2 separate regions of the Homo sapiens genome follow, and region 2 is linked to region 1. Evidence: promoter capture Hi-C in 16 types of primary human blood cells and fetal thymus (Javierre and others, 2016). All regions are on one chromosome and are shown on one strand. The core of a region is centred on a gene start or on the middle of the fragment in contact, and the rest is flanking DNA. Distances in the headings are between cores, read along the strand shown.

The links. Contacts are between HindIII fragments. The CHiCAGO score rates a contact against its expected background, and 5 or more counts as called.
Region 2: a contact is called between a fragment that was not itself captured here and the fragment with the promoter of ACOT12 in region 1, in 2 of 17 cell types (endothelial precursors and M0 macrophages). The highest score is 5.4, in endothelial precursors.

What each region holds. Positions count from the first base shown.
Region 1 is chr5:81,391,475-81,396,715 of GRCh38, reverse strand. ACOT12 (acyl-CoA thioesterase 12) reads left to right here and starts at 2,582. Exons shown (of 15, transcript NM_130767.3): 1 at 2,582-2,728. The coding sequence starts at 2,602. The HindIII fragment of the contact is 6,480 bases long and covers 1-5,241 here.
Region 2 is chr5:81,894,178-81,899,418 of GRCh38, reverse strand. LOC124901018 (a long non-coding RNA gene) reads right to left here. Exons shown (of 6, transcript XR_007058843.1): 5 at 4,370-4,542. Among named protein-coding and RNA genes, the nearest start is that of ATG10, 75 kb to the left of the region's middle. The HindIII fragment of the contact is 2,914 bases long and covers 1,070-3,983 here.

The sequences.
Region 1 (5,241 bases), core at 1,333-3,832:
CTTTGATGCCCCTACCAGTGCTTTCTGCAATTTCCTCCCAAATAAACTGTCTGCTCTCAAATTCTTGTCAGAGGCTCTGTTTCTGGAGAAAGCATTTTTTTTTCTACCTCTCTACTTATATTCCAGGTTCCTTGTTCTTAGTTTTCACAAAACCCAGCCACTACCTTACAATGTGACCCAAGGAAATCACTTCATTTCCTCATCTCTAGAATAAGAGTTTAGACTGTCCAGTTCCCCTTCCCACTCCAGCATTTTAAAGATTTTCTCGTTATTCTAGTGATTGTGGAACTTCCCACACTTTTTTGGATCAGCTTTCCTGCTCCTGTGTACAAACTTTTAAAATCAAGCTGGCTTCACATTCTGCTTATCTTCAAAAATGTCTCTAAACACAAATGAAACTCGACCTTTTATTCAAGCATAATAGTAAAAATCTTTGACACCAGAGAGAAATGGAGGTAACAAATGTTCATGCATGCAGATGACATTTTCATTGTAAAAGGAAGAAAGGGACCATTCAGAAAAACACAAGAATAGTAAAATGAAAATTAGTATGAAACCAACAAAAGATATGAAACCATAATCTGAAGACATCTAAACAGGAGATAATAAAGATAAGAAAACACAGCAGTGAATTTGTGTACCATGTCTGCTTTTAAAGCAACATCTCTAGACAAACACACAAATATACACATGCTGTCCCCTTCAAGAAAATCATTTTGGAAACCCATCCTCTTACACTTATGCGTAAACATTTTTGAAATTTCTTCTTCTTTTTCTTTTTTTTTTTTTTTTTTTTTGAGACTCAAGCTCACTGCAACCTCTGCCTTTTTGGCTCAAGTGATCCTCCTGCCTCAGCCTCCTGAGTAGCTGGGACCACAGGGACACACCACCACGCCCAACTAATTCTTGTATTTTTGGTAGAGAGAGGGTTTCACCATGTTGCTCAGGCTGGTCTTGAACTCCTGAGCTCAAGCAATTTACCTAACCTCAGCCTCCCAAAGTGCTGGGATTATAGGCATGAGCCACTGCGCCTGGCCTAAGTTTCTTTAGTTTATAAGAAACCAAGTATACAACCATACACATAATTCAATATCACCACTTTAGTCACCACTTTTTACCCAAAATAATACAACCCAGCCTAAATGCAAACTTTATTTCCAGTAATTTAATAAACTTCCCAAATATTAATACAGTTCACTCATGTAACTGTCAGCTATTGCTGCATAACAGACAACCCCCAAAATCACAGTGGCACACAACAATAAGTAGTTATGTCTCACTCAAGAGTCTTCATGTCTGCTGGGTTGCTCTGCTTCAGGCTGTGAGTCCTCCGGCTGGCTGAGATGCCTCTGCAATACGTGAATTCAGTCTGGTACCCAGATGCTAATAGGCAGCTACTTGACCTCATGGCAGAGGTCAGATGTTCCTGAGAACAGAAACACGGTGCTTCTAAAGGCAAGACTGGTGGTACACTGCTATCTCTCCACATTCCATTCTTAAGCAAGCCACATGGCCAAGTCCAAGGTCAATAAATGACTCTCACAGAGTTATTGGTAGATGGAGTGAATATATGATAATCTATCAATTCCTAAATTATGATTTCTCAATACAGAAGTCATTAAAAAGGCATTTTCCAAGGAGGAGTGCCAAAAGCGATGTAATAACGTTATCATTGAAATAAGTGTATAGCTACATAATGGGACCATCTTGGATGCACAAGTTTTTGTTTGCTTTTAAAAGTTATTTTAATGCCTTTTATATAAGTCAGACTTCATGCTTGCCTCAGTGAAAACATGCAATTCCTATTTATGATTGGATTGTCCTGAAACCTATACACAGAGGCTCCTAAAAGCTATCAAGTCAACATTTCCTTATTTCTTCACTTTCATTTTAAAAAAAATCTTTTAAAAAGGAAAGAAAAATACCAGAATCTCCATTCTGATGTCGCCATGCTGAGGCTTGGCAAGCCAAAAATATAAGGATGAAAAGGCACCACCAATTCGTGAGAGTCGGCTAGGCTTCTTCGTGCTATTCCGGACAGTCAGGAGCCCTGGGTTCCAGCCAGGTGATCGGGTCGCTTATCGGCTCCTATCACCTCAGCTGCTTGCTCCACTTCTCCGGGTTTCCAGTTCTCCATCGTAAATGTGCTCCCTGGAGCAGCCTCCCCTGACAGTCAGACATCCACCAATCCATTAGATGCTGGAGGTTTTCTGGAGACACTGTTTCCCTAATGAGGACTGCTTTGTACAGTCACTGATAGCAGCTCTAGAAAGTGTAACAGCTTTTTTATCTCAAAAGCTGTTCCTCGCGCTCCGGCTCTCGGGGAGCCGCCTTCCAGACCTGTCTACCCGGGAGCCCCCTCCCCGCGCACTTCCCAGACTTCTCCTGAGACCCGAGAGCGCTGGTTTTCCCCCACTCGCGATAGTCCTGGGATGACAGTGCGGGCCCCCTCACTCGCAGCTCCCACCACCTGGCGGCCAGGGGTTCGCGGCCCGGGCGGGCGGCGCCAGTGCCCTCTGGAGCTGGGCGGGGAGGGCGGGGCGGGCGGAGCGGGCATGGTGGGGTGTCGGGGGCCGCAGGCGTAGCGCTCTCGCCCTGGCCATGGAGCGGCCGGCGCCCGGCGAGGTGGTCATGAGCCAAGCCATCCAGCCGGCGCACGCCACTGCGCGCGGCGAGCTGAGCGCGGGGCAGCTGCTCAAGTGGATCGACACCACCGCCTGCCTGGCGGGTAGGCGGGCGCCGGGGCTGCGGGGAGGCGCGGGACCGGGGCTGCGGGAGCGGCGGCGGCTGGGGGCTGGGGGGGGTAGGAAGGCGAGGAAGGTACTTGCGGAGAGCTGAACCCTGCGCAGCCAGGGATAGGGGTGTTGCAACAGTGCGCCCGCGCTGGGCATGGCCGAGACCGGTGGTTCCCAAATGTGTGGCTCTCGGGACTCCTTCATTCCATTAAACAAGTGAGGAGCCCAGAGAGCTTCTGCGGGGTTTTTTGTTTGTTTGTTTGTTGTTGTTGTTGTTGAGCTCTCTCCCGGGCTGGAGAGCGGTGGCGCCATCAGAGGTCGCTGCAGCCTCGACCTCCTGAGCTAAAGCGATCCTCCCACCTCAGCCTCCAGAGTAACTAGGACCACAGACGCACGCCACCAGGCCCAGCTGACTTTGGGAGTTTTGTTTTGTTTTGCTTTTGTAGAGATGGGGTCTCACTATGTTGCCCAGGCTGGTCTCAAACGCCTGGACTCAAGTGATCCTGAAGTGTTGGGAGGCCCCAGCCTCCCAAAGTGTTGGGATTACAGGCATGAGCCACCGCACCCAGGCAGCTTTTGTTTATGTAGGCTATTTATATCACATTTACCGTAATGGAAATTTAAAATTTTTAATTATTTTTAAAAAAGAAATGGACTACATTGTTAGCATAACATTTTTAATTAAGAAATAACTATTTTCCACAAGAACAAAAGTGTAGCGAGAGGAGTGGTGATAAAGGTTACATCCTGGCGAGTCTCTCTAAGGTCTGGCTAGTGGAGGATTGCTGACTACTCATACCTGCTTCTGCATTCACCCTGCTGCTACCACACCCTTATGTAGTCTCTGGAAAACTCCACTGTGTTCTTGTGACAGAATGACAGTAAAAATGGCAAAAACATTTATTAAGGACTGAATTATATCCCCCACACCACCCACCGAAATTTATACACTGAAGTCCTAACCCCTGGTGTGACTCTATTTGGAGTGAAGAATTAAGGCTAATGAGGTCATAAGAGTGGAATCCTGGTCCCATACAATTAATGTCCTTATAAGAAGAGACACTGGAGAGCTTCTCTCTGCCATGTGAGGCCACAGCAGGAAGACAGCCATCCACAGGCCAGGAAGAGAGCCCTCACTAGGACCTACAATGGGCAAGCACCTCGATTTGGAACTTCCCTGCCTCCACAATTGTGAGAAATCAATGATTCGTTTAAGCCTTTTTTTTTTTTAACAGGATTTGAGATTGGTTATATTAACAATGGAAACATGAATACAAAATTAATCCACACATAGGAAAAAAGAATAATACATAAACCACTGAGGTTGCTAATAATAATGATGCCTGTTTCCAAGGCAACTGAATACATTATGAGACCACTGAAGTGACTTTTAGTTACCTTGCTTAGTGCCTCTGTCTTGTGATGGAGAAACAATGGCCCACCTGCAATTGTCATCATTTCTATGACCTGACATCTTTGGAAACCATGGAAAGATCCAATTGACAATCAATTACTCTATACCTTAATAGTTACATTACTATTAGTAGTATAATATTAATAACTGATAATGTTACTAATATTAAGAAAACCTGTATGATAAAGTTGGTTTGGGCAACATGAATAACGCCTGTGTTAAACACTTTATGGTGACCTGAGGCACCACATAAGCAGGGGACATTATTTAGCCAAGGTGTAACTGAATCTGTGTAGTAATATAAAACTGATTTCTCTGGGATTTTCTCAGAGTTTTTTATAGGCCAGCATTATCTCTTTAGCCACATTACTGCAATCCCAGTCATGGCCCCCAAGGCATTTCTATGACCCCTAGGCACTGCTGGATTCCAAAATGTCTTCTCAATATTTAAAGAAAGATGAAATATTCTCACTATCCTTACTTCTGTCAGTGGCCCCATTATTTTTCCAGTCCCTTAAGTCTAAAGTCTTGAAGCTATCTGAGTAATCCTCTATCTCACACGTCCATGTATTATTTTGGAACATCTCACACACACGGTTTTTTATTTGTGAATCTTTTCCAGGGTTTACTATCTCTGGAGTGGCACCCAACTCATCTAGTTGAGCAAGTCAAAAGTCTAGGAGTCATCCTTGATATTTCTCTCTCCACCTTACTTCTCACTTCACATACTCTATGCATGGAGCAAGTCCTATCAGTGTTACCCCCTAAAGGAGTCTCTGAAATCCAAGCACTTTGCTGCACCCCCATTGCGACCATCTACTCCAAGCTATCATCATGTTTCATGCAGACTTCAGCAGTGATTTCCAAACTCATCTCCATTCGTTCTGGTCTCCTCTCCACACTGCTTCTAAAGTAATCTTTGAAGATGCTAATCTGATTGATCATGTCATATGTTTTGTTCATTTTTCCCTTTCTTTTCTTCACCAAGGGCTTTAAGGATTTTTCTAAGATGTTCAAGTGCTTCCTACTAAAAAATCTCCCACAGATAATAATTATAAACTCTGGGCAAAACACTAAATAAAAGAGACTTAA
Region 2 (5,241 bases), core at 1,277-3,776, 500 kb before region 1:
GAATTAATGTGAAATAATTAAACTAATAAACATATTCATCACTTTAAATACTTACCATGTTTTGGGGTGGGAACATTTGAAATTTGCTCTGTTAGCAATTTTGAAATGTATGACACACTATTATTTACTATATTCACCATGCTGTGAAATAGATCTCAAAAAAATAAAACCATTATTCGGTTTATTTCTCCTACCTGAGACTTGGTATCCTTTGACCATCATCTCCCCATTCTCCCAACATCCCCAGCTTCTGTAACCACCATTCTACTCTGCTTCTATGAATTCAATTGTTGTTGATTCCACAAGTAAGTGAGAACATGCAGCATTTGTCTTTCTGTGTTTGGCTTATTTCATTTAGCATAATATTCTCTAATTCCACCCATGTTGTCACAAATGACCATATTTCCTTCCTTTTTAAGGCTACGTAGTATTCCATAGTGTATATATGCATTTTCTTTATCCATTCATCTGTTCGTTCATGGACACTTAGGTTGATTCTGTAACTTGGCCATTGTGAATAGTGCTGCAATGAACATGAAAGTGCCGATTTCTCTTTGACAAACAAATTTCAAATATTTTTGGTAAATACCCCGAAGTTGGATTGCTGGATCATATGGTAATTCTATTTTTAGTTTTTTTGAAGAACCGCCATACAGTTTTCCAATGGTTATACTAATTTACATTTTCACCAAGAAAGGGACATTTATTGAGTACCTCATATGACACAGTGCTAAAAGTCTAATCTTCCACATAGACTTGTCAGCTACATGTCATCCTCATTTTACAGAAAGGGGAACTAAGATTAGGAGAGGTTAAGTAACTTATTGAGGGTGTCACAACTAGTTCCTTCCTGTATGTTATACCAATACTAAACTGGGAAAAATCTACTTCAAAAGTTTTACTTCGTAATCCCCAAAACCTTAGCAATACAAATCTCCAAACCCTAAGAACTGCTACCATAACAAAGCCTGCAGTTTCTCTCTTTCTAGTTATTGAAAAATATATTGACATTTTATTTATCAGACACTTGACTGTTCTAAATAAGTGATTTTTTCAGATAACTAAAGCTTACCTGTAAATGTCAAAACTTTTTTATTTACATCATGTTCGGTAAGATGTTTCTAAAATGTACTCTATATTTCTCAGTCTTCTTAAACAGTTTATTTAACAGAATTTAATGTTTTCTGAATAATACATGGTAATTTTTAGAAACATCAGTTATTATTCTGAACAAAAAGAATTTCCTATTCATCATAACAGAATTGGCTACATAATGTGCAGGGCCTAATGCAAAATGAAAATGTGCAGCCTCTTGTTGAAAACTTATTAAGAATTTCAAGATGACGACAGCAGAGAATTAAAACAGGCACAGGGTCCTTTGTGATTGCACAGGCCACATACTATGCCGTTGACCCTGTATCATGTCCACATAGTGTCTTGCACATAATAGGAATTCATAAGCACTTACTAAATAATATCTTTAAGACCTAGTGAGTGCTGTAGGGCTCATTTCTTTAAGTGAATTCAAATGTGGTAAAAATAAAAACAACACTAATTGAATTATATGTCAGGCTTTACATGTGTTTTCCCATCAGATCCTCAGAAAAGCTGGTGAGTTTCATTTAGGATTTCATGGCTGCATATAACAAACTCAGTTGGAGTGGCTTAATCAAACACAGGTTTTATTTTTATATACTTGATAAGGGTCTAGTATCCAGAACATCATTTAACCAAGGGGAAAAGTTCTGAGAAATGCTTTGTTAGAAGATTTCATCATTGTGCAAAGATCATACAGTGTACTAACACAAAGCTAGATGGTACAGGTTACTACACACCTAGGCTATATGGTATAACCTGTACTGAATACTGTACAATTGTAACACAATGTTGAGTATTTGTGTATCTAAATTATCTAAACATAGGAAAGGTATAGTAAAAGTATACTATTATTTTAACATAATCCTAGGGGACCAACATGGTATATGCAGGCCTATCACCATTAACTGAAACATTATGTGGTTATGTGGCATGGGGCATCACTGTATAAACCTAACAGAGTGGAAAACAGATGTTTAAATAGAAACTTATTTACAATGTTCATAGCAGTTCTGTTTACAATAGCTGAAAGGTAAAAACAACCCAAATGTCCATCAACAGATGAATGGACAAACAAAATGTTATATATCCAAACAATGGAATATTATTCAGCTATAAAAAGAAATACTGATATGTGCTACACGAGTGAGTCTTGAAAACATACCGAGTGAAATAAGCCAGAGACACAAGGCCACATATTATATCATTTCAGTTACATGAAATGTCCAGAAAAGGCAAATCTATAGAGACAGAAAGTATATTAGTGGTTTCCAGGGGCCTGGGAAGATTGGGAAATAGGGAGTGACAGCTTAATAGGTATAGAGTGTCTGTTTGAGATGATGAAAAAGTTCTGGAACTAGATAATGATACTGATTGTGCAATGTTGTAAATGTGCAATGTTGTAAATGTACTTAATGACACTGAATGGTATACTTATGATAAATTTGTTATGTCTATTTTACCACAATTTCAAAAAAGGAATGAAGTACTGACATATCATACAGTACTTCACAGATGTAAACATACAACATTGATGAAACTTGAGAATATTATGCTAACTGAAAGAAAGCCGATCACAAAAGGCCACATATTGCACAGTTCTATTTATATGAAATTTCCAGAATAGGAAAATCCATGGAGACAGAAAGGAGATGCGTGGTTGCCTAGGGTTGGAGGAAGAGGAGACTAGGGAGTGACTGCTAAGGAGTTTGAGTTTTTTGAGGGGTGATAAAAATGTTCTGGAATTACATGGTCGAGATGTTTGCACTACCGTGTGTGTGTGTGTGTGTGTGTATAAAACCACTGAATTGTACACTTTAAACGATTGAATTTTAGGCTGGGTATGGTGGCTCACTTCTGTAATCCAGCACTTTGGGAGGCTGAGGCAGGCGGATCACCTGAGGTCAGGAGTTCGAGACCAGTCTGGCCAACATGGTGAAACCCCATCCTTACTAAAAATACAAAAAAAAAAAAAAAAAATTAGCCAGGCGTGGTGGCATGTGCCTGTAGTCCCAGCTGCTCAGAAGACTGAGACAGGAGAATCACTTGAACCCAGGAGGCAGTGGTTGCCGTGAGCCAAGATCACGCCACTGCACTACAGCCTCGGTGACAGAGCAAGACTCTATCTCAATTAAAAAAAAAAAAAAGATTGAATTTTAGGTATGTGAATTATAATTCAGTAAAAGCTGTTATACAAAAGAGTAAAAGGTCCAAATACCATGCATGACATTTTGAAAAGTTTTGGAGTTTGGAGGCCTTTTTTGCTCAATTTCTGGGTGCTACAAATATACCAGTTGATTGACTTCACCGCATAAGGGACCTTCAGATAAATGAGCTATTTCTGAATAAAAGCAAGAAATTCAAACAGAAGGGTCCAGGGGAGAGGGGAACAGTTCCTTTTGTTGCAGTCTTTGTCTCTGCTTCTCTCATTTCTGTAATGCCCTTAGAACTCTCTGTTGGCCTTCCTAAGTCCTAGAATTCAATTTGAGAAACACTGGCCAAAGACACTTGGTAGAGCCAAGATAACATGTATCAGTGCCTCATATTTAATCTAAAGGACTATAACAGGTCATCTGAAAGTATTGGAAAGGGTCTAGAGTTGTTTGACACTCTCATTAGAAACCTAGTGATGAAGAGAGACATGTTGAAGAAATCTAATTGCCTAGAGGTGTTAAATGCTTTTGTAGATAAATATCTTGGTTCTGTACTTTAAAAATAAGGTAACCTGCAAAGTCATTCACAAGATTCATATTGAGGAACTTGAACAAACTGAAGCCCAGTGATATTACTAGAGACCTATAGCATATGAGGAAAGAGAAAAGCTCAAAGAAGTGACTCATTCTGGGGAAAAAACTCAGAAAGATCACCACTTACAATGAGCATAAGCTTCTATGCCAAAACCAAGCTCAGGGGAGAGGACCATGCCATCAAGAAGAGAGGCATTGCCCAGAACAGAGTTTTCTTCAAGAGACTTATGCTACCTCAGGAGTGGGTTGCTTCCAATGTAGGGCAATCCTAATTTTTGCAAATTAGAATTAAGGCTTTTTGAAATTATGTCATATAAAATAATTAACAAAGCGTTCATGGACAAAATGTAAAGAATGCAAATTCTGAAACAACATCTAAATGTATTAAAAAATCTTAATTTCCAAGCTTTTATATAAGGGATTTGTAATTGGGTTTATGCTATTGCTATAGTAGTGCCATTTTCAGCTGATAAATATAAATACTTGTCCTTTTTCTTTTGGTCATGATTAGGCTGAAATTAACAAACCTTTGAATTACACAATCTCTTTTGAAGTTCCTCCTTCATGGAATGCTACTGCTCTGTACCTCCAAGAAGAAACTGAGGATGGGAATTCCTAATTCCATGGATCTCAATAGAATAATGAGAGTGGAGGCTCCACAGAGGGCTTCTTCTCCAATGCAATCAGGACTGGGAGTTGGCTGGTTAATGAAAGATAATGGTTAAAGAGGTGAATCATAAGAAAAAAACATAGACAGACATATGAATGCTTGTTTTAAATTAAAGTAACTGTGTCCAGCTTTTGATATAAGGCCCAGGCTTTTTATTATACTCGAATGTCAGTGAGTTGACTGGAGTTCTGCTTCGTCTTTCTTGCATAAAGTGCACTCATTATACAACCTCTGCTGTTTCCAATGATAACTCATTTAAAGGGAACCAAAAACTTAAAGATACTATTGGACAAACTGAATGCAGAATCCTTCTAGAATTTTATAATAGCCTTTCTATTTTAATCATTGCCCAGCAACTTACTTTTATTGAATCTTGTCAAAATATTCGACCAGGTTTTCAAAAGGACAGCCTTGATTTTTGCATTCATATTTCATATATTTATATAATATTTAACTTAATTTACTTATGAATAATGATAAGTTTAGCTGATATGCAACAGTCTGGGGAACAAATAGTCTTGAGTCTGGATAAGTATAGAACTCAACTATGGTAGCAGAAATACACGGAGGGTCTAGAGAGTGGCCTTCTAGCTGTGGTGCTCAGAGTGCAGTATCAATCACAATGTTTCCCTGCAATATGCAGCATATCTCAGCAATGTGTCAGGGCCAGTTGGAACTGCTCTGCAACACCAGATCTGCACTGCCTCCCTTCCTCTTCCTCACCGTTGA